Linked DNA regions of Homo sapiens: region 1 is linked to region 2. Evidence: promoter capture Hi-C in human tissues and cell types (Jung and others, 2019). All regions are on one chromosome and are shown on one strand. Each heading gives the region's core, a stretch centred on a gene start or on the middle of the fragment in contact. The rest is flanking DNA. Distances are from core to core; before and after follow the strand shown.

The links. Contacts are between HindIII fragments. The study calls those that stand out against the background at their distance.
Region 1: a fragment that was not itself captured here is called in contact with the fragment with the promoter of TBC1D9 in region 2 in 1 of the 25 tissues and cell types used here (heart left ventricle).

The regions. Positions count from the first base shown.
Region 1 is chr4:140,144,522-140,150,043 of GRCh38, forward strand. All of the region lies in intron 1 of MAML3 (mastermind like transcriptional coactivator 3), which reads right to left. Among named protein-coding and RNA genes, the nearest start is that of MAML3, 6.9 kb to the right of the region's middle. The HindIII fragment of the contact is 8,266 bases long and covers 1-5,522 here.
Region 2 is chr4:140,754,119-140,759,664 of GRCh38, forward strand. TBC1D9 (TBC1 domain family member 9) reads right to left here and starts at 2,267. Exons shown (of 21, transcript NM_015130.3): 1 at 1,798-2,267. The coding sequence starts at 1,927. RefSeq lists a silencer at 1,620-2,309 and enhancers at 1,965-2,607, 2,608-3,249, 2,740-2,789. The HindIII fragment of the contact is 15,545 bases long and covers 1-4,334 here.

The DNA.
Region 1 (5,522 bases), core at 2,874-5,373, 610 kb before region 2:
CCTGTCTCCGAAAAAAAAAGCAAAACCAAAAAAAAAAAAAAAAAGAATTAAAGGAATCCTACAGTAAATCCATTCACATGGCAGTAGTAATAATTTAAGAGAGCACAGAAATATTTCAGGAACATGATTTGCTTTCCAGGTACAAACAATATAGCCATTAGCTCTTAAAAATATATATTCGAGTTTCAGCAAGTTCTCCAAGTTCAGAATAGGTTACTAAAAGCATGCTTTACTTCTGTAAACTCCCAAAGCACCAGGATATAGTCTGTTTACCCACACCTGCTCTCACATGTCTCTCTCCTCTGATATCCATTCTAGGTGATGCCTCCAAAATGCTCATCCTTTTTTGCCTCTCCTACCTTAACACTAGTTCAAGCCCTTTACTGGGTACCCAGCCTTTTAGATTCACTCTCAATCGCTGAGCTACTTTCAGCATCTAACAAACAAAGAAAAATAACCAACCAGAGTGAGAATAAAGGGCACAAGCAGAGCATGTCTTTCAGAGCTGTGCAATCCTTTTGAGTCACAGTTGCAACCCAGGTTGAATCTACACAAATAGACTTAGAGCACTTCGGCCTTTTCCTTTGAAGAGATAGAAGCCCCTGTCCAGACGTGCTCGGGAGGTGGAGAAAGATGTTGGGAAAGGGAAGGAGAGATACACAGCAGTGTAACCTAATAACCTCCTTTACCCATGGAAGTAAAACACTGTTAACAGTTGAGGGGTGGAGGGTCCATAAACATGAAATGATACACAACCAGATTCTACTCAACAGGATGGCAATAAAAGGAGTTAGGAAAATTCTGGAAGTTGGTAGTTAAAAACTAAATATTTCACTTAAGTTTTCTACAGTTGTTAAGCCATTGCAAAAGGGGGATGAATGTTAGTTATTAGCATTTTAAAAGGTTCTACTTCAGCATAAAGGTCATTTCCAATCAATGGGAGGTCCAATATAATTAAAAGGTGCCTAAATTATTATTGAGGAATCACTTTCTTTATGTCAGAGGAAGTACTGCAAGCCTTTTGAGATTTTTTTGTTTTGTTTTGTTTTGTTTTGTTTTGTTTGAGACAGGGTCTCACTCTGTCACCAGGCTGGAGTGTAGTGGCACGATCTCAGCTCACTGCAAACTCTGCCACCCTGGTTCAAGCAATTCTCCTGCCTCAGCCTCCCAAGTAGCTGGGATTATAGACATGCGCCACCACGCCCGGCTAATTTTTGTATTTTTCGTAGAGATGGGGTTTCACCATGTTGGTCAGGCTTGTCTCGAACTCCTGACCTCGTGATCTGCCCGCTCGGCCTCCCAAAGTGCTGGGATTACATGCATGAGCCACTGCGCCTGGCCTTTTTTTTCTTTTTTCTTTTTTTTTTTTGAGAAGGATTTTTACTCTTGTTGCCCAGGCTGGAGTGCAATGGCACAATCTCGGCTCACTGCAACCTCCACCTCCCAGGTTCAAGCAATTCCCCTGCCTCAGCCTCTCAAGTAGCTGGGATTACAGGCGTGTGCCACCATCCCCAGCTAATTTTTGTATTTTAGTAGAGACGGGGTTTCACCATGTTGGTCAGGCTGGTCTCAAACTCCTGATCTCAACTGATCTACCGGTCTCGGCCTCCCATAGTGCTGGGATTACAGGTATGAGCCACTGTGCCCGGCCACCTTTTGAGATTTTTTAATTAAATTTCTCCAAGAATAGTATACACAGCTTGCCATAGTAGTAACTTCCTGCTCCTATCCATGCGTGCATGCGGCCCTCAGAGAACGCCGAATGCTGTGCTTCTGTCCCAAATGGAGAAAGGAACTCAAAAACCCCTCCACTGTTTAACAGATGGAATTGCCAAGTAGACTTTAAAAAAAGTGTGCTCCTTCTCTGATCCACTGAATGGAACCCCATGATCTTTAAGTATTTATTATACAGCAGGCCCTCAACTCCATTTTCTGCATAATTTTATCTAACCCTATTTCTTTTGTTCTTTAAACTTTCTTAGATTTAAACAACAAAAAAATTAAACTAAATTAATCAGTTCTTGGTGACAGCTGATTTTTCAGAAGCTACATTTCCAAGTCACAAAACTAAATAGTGAATTTTTGGAATCTGTCTGGAAAGCAGGCTGTATTTGTAATAAAAATTTAATTTGTGGGGGGATACTGTAATTTTGGAGCAGTCATCTGCAAATTAACTTATTTGGCAGATACCAATGTCAAATTGGTATGAAACAACAGGAAAGTAAAGCATATTATAATATTTTCCTTAAAAATCATGGAAAGGTGATATAACACCCTGAAGCCTGAAACTGCTGTCGTTAGTGCCAATGACTATACTGATTTTTAAAAATCTGGCCGGGTGCGGTGGCTCACACCTGTAATCCCAGCACTTTGGGAGGCTGAGGTGGGCAGATCACAAGGTCAGGAGATCGACACCATCCTGGCCAACATGGTGAAACCTGTCTCTACTAAAATACAAAAAATTAGCCAGGCGTGGTGGTACATGCCTGTAGTCTCAGCTACTCGGGAGGCTGAGGCAGGGGAATCACTTGAACCCAGGAGGCAGAGCTTGCAGTGAGCCGAGATTGCATCACTTCACTCCAGCCTGACGGCAGAGTGAGACTCCATCTCAAAAAAAAAAAAAAAAAAAAAAAAAATTGTTACGCCCTTGAATCTGGCTAGAATAATACTGAAAATCTACAGAGAATATATATTGTCAAAGTCTTGGATGCAAGAGCGTGATTTAGTATCTTAACTTCCATGAAACACTATGGACAATGTACCAATGCTGCTGAATGAATGAATGAAATTAGAAACTCAGTCTTTATTATTTGTGCTAAGTAAGAATAAAGGCAAATCCATACTAAATCCAAAATGGTATTGTATCTGATTGTTTCATTAGTTCTGAGAGTCAGGAGCACCAAAATTAAATTTTTTCTCTTCTTATTGCTTCTTCCCACTCTTTGATAACGGTGTTAAAGATCACTGAAAAGACCAAAAGGTTGGCAGCAGGTGGGGGGAAGGAAAAACAAAGCAAGCAGCCAGGGGATCTGAAAACTCAACCATCAGCCTTTGAATAATAGAGTGAAAAATGTAAAGCTATTTGGGAGACTTAAAAGGTAGACACTATGAAAATCTTGACAGTGAGTTTTAAATATGTTCCTCTTTATAAGAGTCTGATGTCTGTTTGATTGATTTCACAGTTCTCCAAGATGGGTAATGTGGAAAAAGACAACAGAATTTAGCCTTTTTAAGCTCAAGAGTATAAGACAGGACTGTTACTTAACAAACAGGGAACAGTAATCACACAAGTACTTCAAATATATCCAAGAATTACTATTTAACATGCAAAACAGGTTCTTACACTGGATCCCTTCTATGACACTCACACCAGGGTGAGTGAGTGAATGAGTGAATGTGTGTGTGTGTGTGTGCACGTGCATGCATGAGAGAGAGAAATGCCTTATATTCCTATCTCAACCAAATGGGCAGGAAAACTTCTTTAACAACAGTTGGCCATTAGTCTCACAGCGATATTCAGAAAATAACTCCATATAACTCTATTTTACTATTAAATTCCTCATCCTTCTTCTTCCAGAGATGTCAGTAAACTATGTACAGGACTGCCCATTTTTCTCCTATCAGGTGGCAGAAATCCTAAAAAAGATTCTAAAGTTTGCCCTTATAATTCTAATGAGACAGGATAGAAAGTATCAAGCATACTAGCTTCCTGAAAACTTGGCTTTCCCTGGGAAGGAACTCAGCTTGAAGAGCATTTTGTAGATTATGATTAATGCTTAACTAACTCTGCTTCTACTTTTCTGACCACTGGCTGCCCAGTACTAAATAAAATATACCACAACCAAATAACATAATAGAATTAAACATGTATTGGAGCTTAAAAAAATGCTTCTTGAGAATTAAAAGAAAAAAATACATATGAAGGACAGAAAAAACAAAATTTCAAAAAGTTTTCCACAAACTTAAGGCATGCTGTGTTGGGCAATGGAAAGCTTTCCGAAAGACAGTCTGTCCTGTTACCCATGCTAGCGGCAGAACAGGATAAGCCAAAGAAAAGGTTATCATAGGGAAGATGTAGAAATAGCTTGGTAATACGAGCTTGCCAAAAAAATTGATACAGAGCCAGTAATTTACCTTCAACAGGGTAAGAAATGGGAAGCCAGATTAACGTATAAGGACATTCAGCAGTGGACTAATATGTTGACATTTCCTGAATCTATTCCAGGAATGGATGGAACATTTTGGATGGGTTGTAGTTGTCTCCAATACTCGGTAATAACGCATTTATTATTAAATGCATGTTATGAATTTTTTGTGATAAGCTCTTCAGAACAGGGGTCACATAGATTTATGCAGTCTGTAAGCTGTATATAAATTAAGCACACTCTGAAAGTTACGATGGTGCTAATACAGTGAAGAGGTCATGAAAATAATATGGTCTTATCTAAGTCAACTAAGACTATCACCATTTTAAAATTTTGAAAACTGTGCACTGTCATGCTTTTTGATGTGCCTGCTCAGCTTGAAAATGTACTTGTCAATTGAAATTTGCCTTAAAATTTTAACCAGGACCTCAGTTCCAAATACAGCAAATAAACAATGCCCCCTTTTGTTACCACAAATAATTAAAAGCCATCTTTTCAACTGAGGCTCTCTGATAGGTGAAGTCAATAATTTTCACCAAGTCTTTGAGGGGAAGAAAAAAACTATGTCAATAAAGTGGTGGTGGTTGGGATGGGATCATTTGACTACATGTTCAGAACGGACCTAATACCTGAGGTAGTGCAGCTTCAAACCCAGGTCTGTGCCACCTGCTCTATCAACAGGGCTGGTGAGGACTCACACAGAACCCAGCCCCCTCTGTGGCAGCCTGGAGCCAAGGAAAATTTTTTACCCCTCACCCACTCTGCTTTTTGTTTGCTATTTTTTTGTTGTTGTTTTTCATGCCCATTCTTGTAAATGTGTAAGATAGGAAAACAAATCAAAAGAGGCAAAGCCCTCATTAGACTGCCTTCTTAATCCAAGCGAGGCAGAAAGATAATTAATCGATATTTAGTACTTCGGACATATTGGTCCTTAGAAAGTAAACAATACCAATGAAACAGTAAAGAATCCTATTCATCTTTATTTTTATATCACCGTTATTATTATTTGGTTGTGGGTGATCATTGTTTTTCTTTAGGGCTTTCCAAATAGAGCGCCCAATCTGAGAACTACATTTAATTGTTCTGTGCCTCACTGGAGTACAACTATAATCCTGCAGTCAATTCAAGAAAATGAAGAGCAACGTTTTCTTTACAACCTCTATTTTTGAGATTTTACCTCAATACAGACTGTTAAAATACTCTCAGAAGCCAAGGTTAACTTTTAAACTAATTATTTTAAAAGGAAATATAACTTGTAGAGCATGTTTCTTTCTTTTTTTTTTTTTTTTTTGGTACACAGAATTTACTTGCAACTCTGCTTAAGAGTTAAGGCTTACATTACATTCATCACACTCATCACACATACCAGTGAGAGAT
Region 2 (5,546 bases), core at 1,017-3,516:
TCTAAGAACCAGTAGGAACACAATACAAATGTTAAGCAGAAAAAGAAGGCTCTGAATCCCTGAATTTTTCACATCCTATTACAAATGACACAGGTAAATGAATACTTAATGCTTACAAGGTGTAGGAGGGTTAATTGCAGAAGGAAATGTTCTCTTTTTACTACAATAAATTATCTACTCTGTGTTGTTGTCCTAGGCTTAAAGGACTACATGGGCCGGGTGAGGTGGCTCACGCCTTTAATCCCAGCACTTCGGGAGGCCAAAGTGGGCGGATTATTTGAGATCAGGAGTTCAAGACCAGCCTGGCCAACATGGTGAAACCCCATCTATTAAAAATACAAAAAAAATTAGCCGGGCGGGTTGGTGCATGCCTGTAGTCCCAGCTACTCAGGAGGCTGAGGCAGGAGAATCACTTGAACCCAGGAGAAGGAGGTTGCAGTGAGCCGAGATCACGCCACTGCACTCCAGCCTGGGCGACAAAGCAGGACTCTGTCTCAAAAAAAAAAAAAAAAAAAAAAAAAAAAAGGACAATGTGGGCTGATTCCAATATTAGATATGTAAATTACATATTAACATTTAGAGTTAGATAACTTCTACAAAATGACCTGGAAAATCCTGGTATCAGATCACTAGTAAGTATTTCCAGAATGGGGTCTGGAGCTCTGCAGATTTATCTTTTCTGGTAGAATCAAGATCCTTCAAACATACCAGTATACATTGTACCACATGACACCTGAATTTTAATCTTAAGAAAATTAGTTTATAAATATAATCATAAGTAAATACATATATCAAGAATCTTTATTTCATAGCACAGCATTTGAAAGCAACAATTTACCTATTGTGCAAACTCCAGGTGATATATGAGGTTGATATAAGCTCAACTCTGAGGAGGGTCAAAGTTCATCTCTTTTTTGCAGTCTCCTTTCTAGTGAAACCTCTACTATTTCTTCTGCTAACTTTTTCACTGTAAAAAGTATTCCAGTTCTGTTCATTCTAAATAACACAGAGATGGAGAAGGTCCAATTTCTCTAGTATGGTATGAGTTCGAGATTATTTCTAATATGGCACTACTTTGGATATGGGTCTGACTGATCTTATTATCCTGAATGATATGACATGGCTTCAGCAACAATTACAATAATACCTTGAAGGGAGGGGGTTTAGGGAAGAAGTGATTGAGCAAAAATAGTTAAAATGCAGTTATACAGCCAATTATTTTTACAACTAGAACCAGACAATTTGCTTTGCTTTATGTCTAATTAGGTGAAACAAAAAAATTCCTGTTTCCGTATTCATTCTCTTCGGTCATAACTCATATAGGAAATGACCACATCAGTTCCTTACTTATCGCTTCCCTGGAAACAAAAGAGCATTTTATACCTGATCCTGCTGTTGCCAGTAAAGAAAGTGGAGCAAAAATTAACCTTCTTCCATCCCTCTTTTCCATTTGGAAAACAATATTTTTAAGGGGGGGAGGGGAAGGGAATGATGCATTCAATATATAGGGGATAATACATTCCCTCCGCCCCAGACTCACTCTTTCCCATTCTCCTCAACATATCCACTTAAAGAGCGCTCAGTACGCTGAGGGCCCCAAGCCTGACAGAGTCAAAAAAAGAAGCATCTCTGCCCAACCTGAACATCACGACTCTCGATGCCTCGCATACAACGAGGCAGGGCGGGTCGCCCAGCCCCAGGGGACCGGGCGGCGTCTCCCGAGCCTGCAGCCCAGGCCGCGGGCGGCGCCGCAGCGCTCCCGGCTCCCCTCCTGCAGGGATCGGCCACGGTCCTTACCCGCCAGTCCGCCGCCGCCGCCTCCATCGCCGGCGTGGCCCTTCCTCCGCTGCAGGATGAAGTATGGGTTGGCCCTCTCGGTGATCCACAGCGCGTTGGCCAGCAACACCTCCTCCGGGTTCACCCACATGGTCCTGGCTGCCGCGGGCGGGCGCACAATGGGCCCGTGGGTCCAGTCCTGCACCCACCACCGCGACAGGCGCGCACTCCTGGGCACACGCGCGCCCGCCCGCCCGTCCGCTAGGTGCGGCGGCGGCGGCGGCAGGCGACTTCAGGGGGTGGCCCGCGGCGTCCGGGCCACAACAAAGCCCCAGCAGGCGGCCCGGGAGGACGGTGAGGACGCGGGCGCGGCAAGCAGCATCCTCCCCGCGGCGTCGCCGCCCCGCGAGAGCCCGCGGCCGCAGACGCCCGGCCTGGCACTCTGCAGCCCGGCTCCCGGCCCACGGCGGCGGGAGGAGCGGGAGGAGGAGGAAGAGGAGGAGGAAGGGAGCGGGAGGAGGAGGAAGTGGTATAGCTCAGTCCCGGGATCCGGCTCAGCGCCAGGCAGGGCTAAGGGCCACCCGAGCGGATTCGGCCCCGCGGTCAGGGCCAAGCTGGGCTCCGGCGCTGCTGCTCCCGCGGCGCCGACTGGAGCTCCAGAGCCCCTCCCGTCTCTACCTGCTCGAGCTCCCGAAGTCGCCGCGCCTTAACGCGCCGTGTCGGGGCCGCAGGCGCCACTAGGGAAGCCCAGCTCCCCGCTGGAAGGACGCTCCGGACACTGCGAATGAATGACGACAACGCGGCTCACTTGGAGCGGGTCCGGGTTTGTGCGGACTCGGTACCACCGCGGGCTCCGCGCGCCGAGCTGAGCAGCTGTGGCTGGCTTCGGGGGAACCTTCGGGGGAAGCTCCTGGGGACCGTGTGCCAAGCACTGGGCCCGACGCCCATCCCAGCAGGGAGGACGCCGCCAGCCTGCGTGGGTGCGTGTGTGCTGTTTGTGTTTAAGGTTGACGCTCTATGGGATAGCGCCACCCCTTTTCCCAGGAAAAGTGTTTCAAGGTTCCAGACCTGGAGCTCGGTTAGAGACCCGGGGTCGGAAGCCAACGCAGCCAATGGTCGTCGATGTTTTTGTTTCCTGCATCCCCAGGGCAAGTCATGCGCTAAACTTGTCACCGCTTGTGACCCCTCCCCCCTCTCCATTCCATTGTAATTAAAGTGGCCTAGCTAAGTGCATTACATCACTTCTTTCCTTGACCTGTAGGGCGTGAGCAATAGAGAAGTTGGAAGCGGCCCAAAAGCTTAGACCAACTAATTCACACCACAGCTGTTCCTATATCGCATTTGGGGCTTCGAAAACTGGGCATGGCAGAATTTTAAAATTTATCCACTCTTGGTAGATGGATTTTTTTTTTAATCAGTGAAACCAGAAACACACAAACCAGGGCAGCTTTATCCCTAGACAGTTTCAGTTTCCCCAAATACTTCGAGCTTCCAGTGGTGATCACAGCCCATCTGCCTACATATCTGATGACCATTTTTTTTTCCTCCCGCCCAGGAGATCTGGAGGATAGTTCAGCCAAAAAAAAAAAAAAAAAAAAAAAAAAAAAAGTTCCTCTTCCCAAATGATGGGAATTTAGCAGACTCTGCTTTGTTGTGGATGCTGGGCAATCCTAGGGACTTTTCCCTTTCCAAATGAGCAGAGATTCAAATGAAACCTTCTTGTGTGGGCTTCAAAATTGTGACTTTTGTAGCTCCGACTTGAATTGTTGAATTCCTTCAATTAGTCGAATGAGCAAATCACCAGCCATTCTAATGAGACTGCCATTTCATCTGTTCGCTTCCTACCGCTTGGGCTCTCAAGGAATGGAAGTTTCCCTTGATGTTACCACACAGACTGATCTGCTTCTTCCAGGCATCAGTGGAAACCTCATGTATTTAACACAGACTCAAAAAACTCATTTGGCACTTTTGGTCACAGTGCAGTGCCTTCAGTCACAAAATCTGCAAATAAAAAGCAAACAATAAGATTATAAGTCATACATATGCAAAAATTATATTAATATATCATGTAACTTTTATATTTTTGAAGTGTTTCCATAGGTATTCTTTTACTTGATATAATTGGTATTTTTAAAAACTCTAAGTGCCTTAATACCATGTTGGGGTTTGGAAAATGATACCACAAAGCATGGTGCTTTGGCATGCTGAGTACTTTGAACTAAAGGAGATTGAAAGGCCTCAGAAGCAGTTTCTCTCTGACCTCCTTCTGCCCTCCTGTCTCCCACCTCTCTTTCTCCCCCAAAGTGAGTCATGGAAACTAAAGGCAGGTCATAGAAACTAAAACCCCTCTTCCCAAAGGAAGCTACAAAACCTAGAAATATTACCATTCCTCACTCTTCTGTGTAAGAGCAGACATAAAGAATAGAGAAATAAAGAAATTATCTACCCTACCTTGTTGGATAGTAGGTCCCCTTTCCAAAGGAGTCCTGCTCTAAACCCAGGAGGAGGGAAAGCTATACGGAGAGGCCAAGAAGAATCTGAACAGACAGACTGGGTCTGTTCTCAGTCTATTACCATTGGATCTTACCCTTTTGTCCAACCACATCTACATGGCTGCCCACTCTTCATTGAACCTAAGCACAAAAATGGACAGAGCGAGACTCTCTCAAAAAAATAAACAGGCTGGGCATGGTGGCTCATGCCTGCAACCCCAGCATTTTGGTAGGCAGAGCCAGGAGGACCCCATCTGTATTAAACCAGAGAGACCCCATCTCTATTAAAAAAAAATAGACAGGTTTCCCTGGGTTTTTCCGTCTTCATTTCTGAAGGTTCCCATGTCACCTAAAACTTTGATTAAACAAATGTGTTGTGCTTTTCTCTTGTTAGCCTGTCTTTTGTTATAGGTGTGTTGGCTATGACCCTTATGGGAAGGAAAGATATCACACCTTTTCCCCTACAACAATCTTTTGTTTTTGTTTTGTTTGAGACAAAGTCTCGCTCTGTCACCTAGGCTGGAGTGCAGTGGCACGATCTCAGCTCACTGTAACCTTCACCTCCCAGTTCAAGTGATTCTCCCACCTCAGCCTCCTGAGTAGCTGGGACTACAGGTGTGAGCCACGACGCCCAGCTAATTGTTGTATTTTTAGGAGAGACGGGGTTTCACCACGTTGGCCAGGCTGGTCTTGAACTCCTGACCTCAAGTGATCCGCCCGCCTTGGGGCCTCCCAAAGTGCCAGAAGCCACCATGCCCGGCCTACAACAATCTTTTGGCTTGCCCTTGGCATGCTGCTTAAGGTTGTGGTTTCACACCAAAACCTATACCCTAGCCCCAAAATGTAAGTTACTTTGGCCTTTTTTATATACTGGTACCAAGTGCTATTTACTTATACAATTTATTCATTCATTCATTCATTCATTCACTTATTCAACATATAATTATTGAATGCCTACTATACTCTAGGCCTTGGAATAAAAAGTGAACAAGGCCAGGCGTGGTGGCTCAAGCCTGTAATCCTAGCACTTTCGGAGACCGAGGCAGGTGGATTGCCTGAGCTCAGGAGTTCGAGACCAGCCTGGACAACAAGGTGAAACCCCGTCTCTACTAAAATGCAAAAAATTAGCCAAACGTGGCACCATGCACCTGTAGTCTCAGCTACTCTGGAGGCTGAGGCAGGAGAATTGCTAGAACACGGGAGACGGAGGTTGCAAGGAGCTGAGATCACGCCACTGCACTCCAGCCTGGATGACAGAGTGAAAAAAAGTGAACAAAA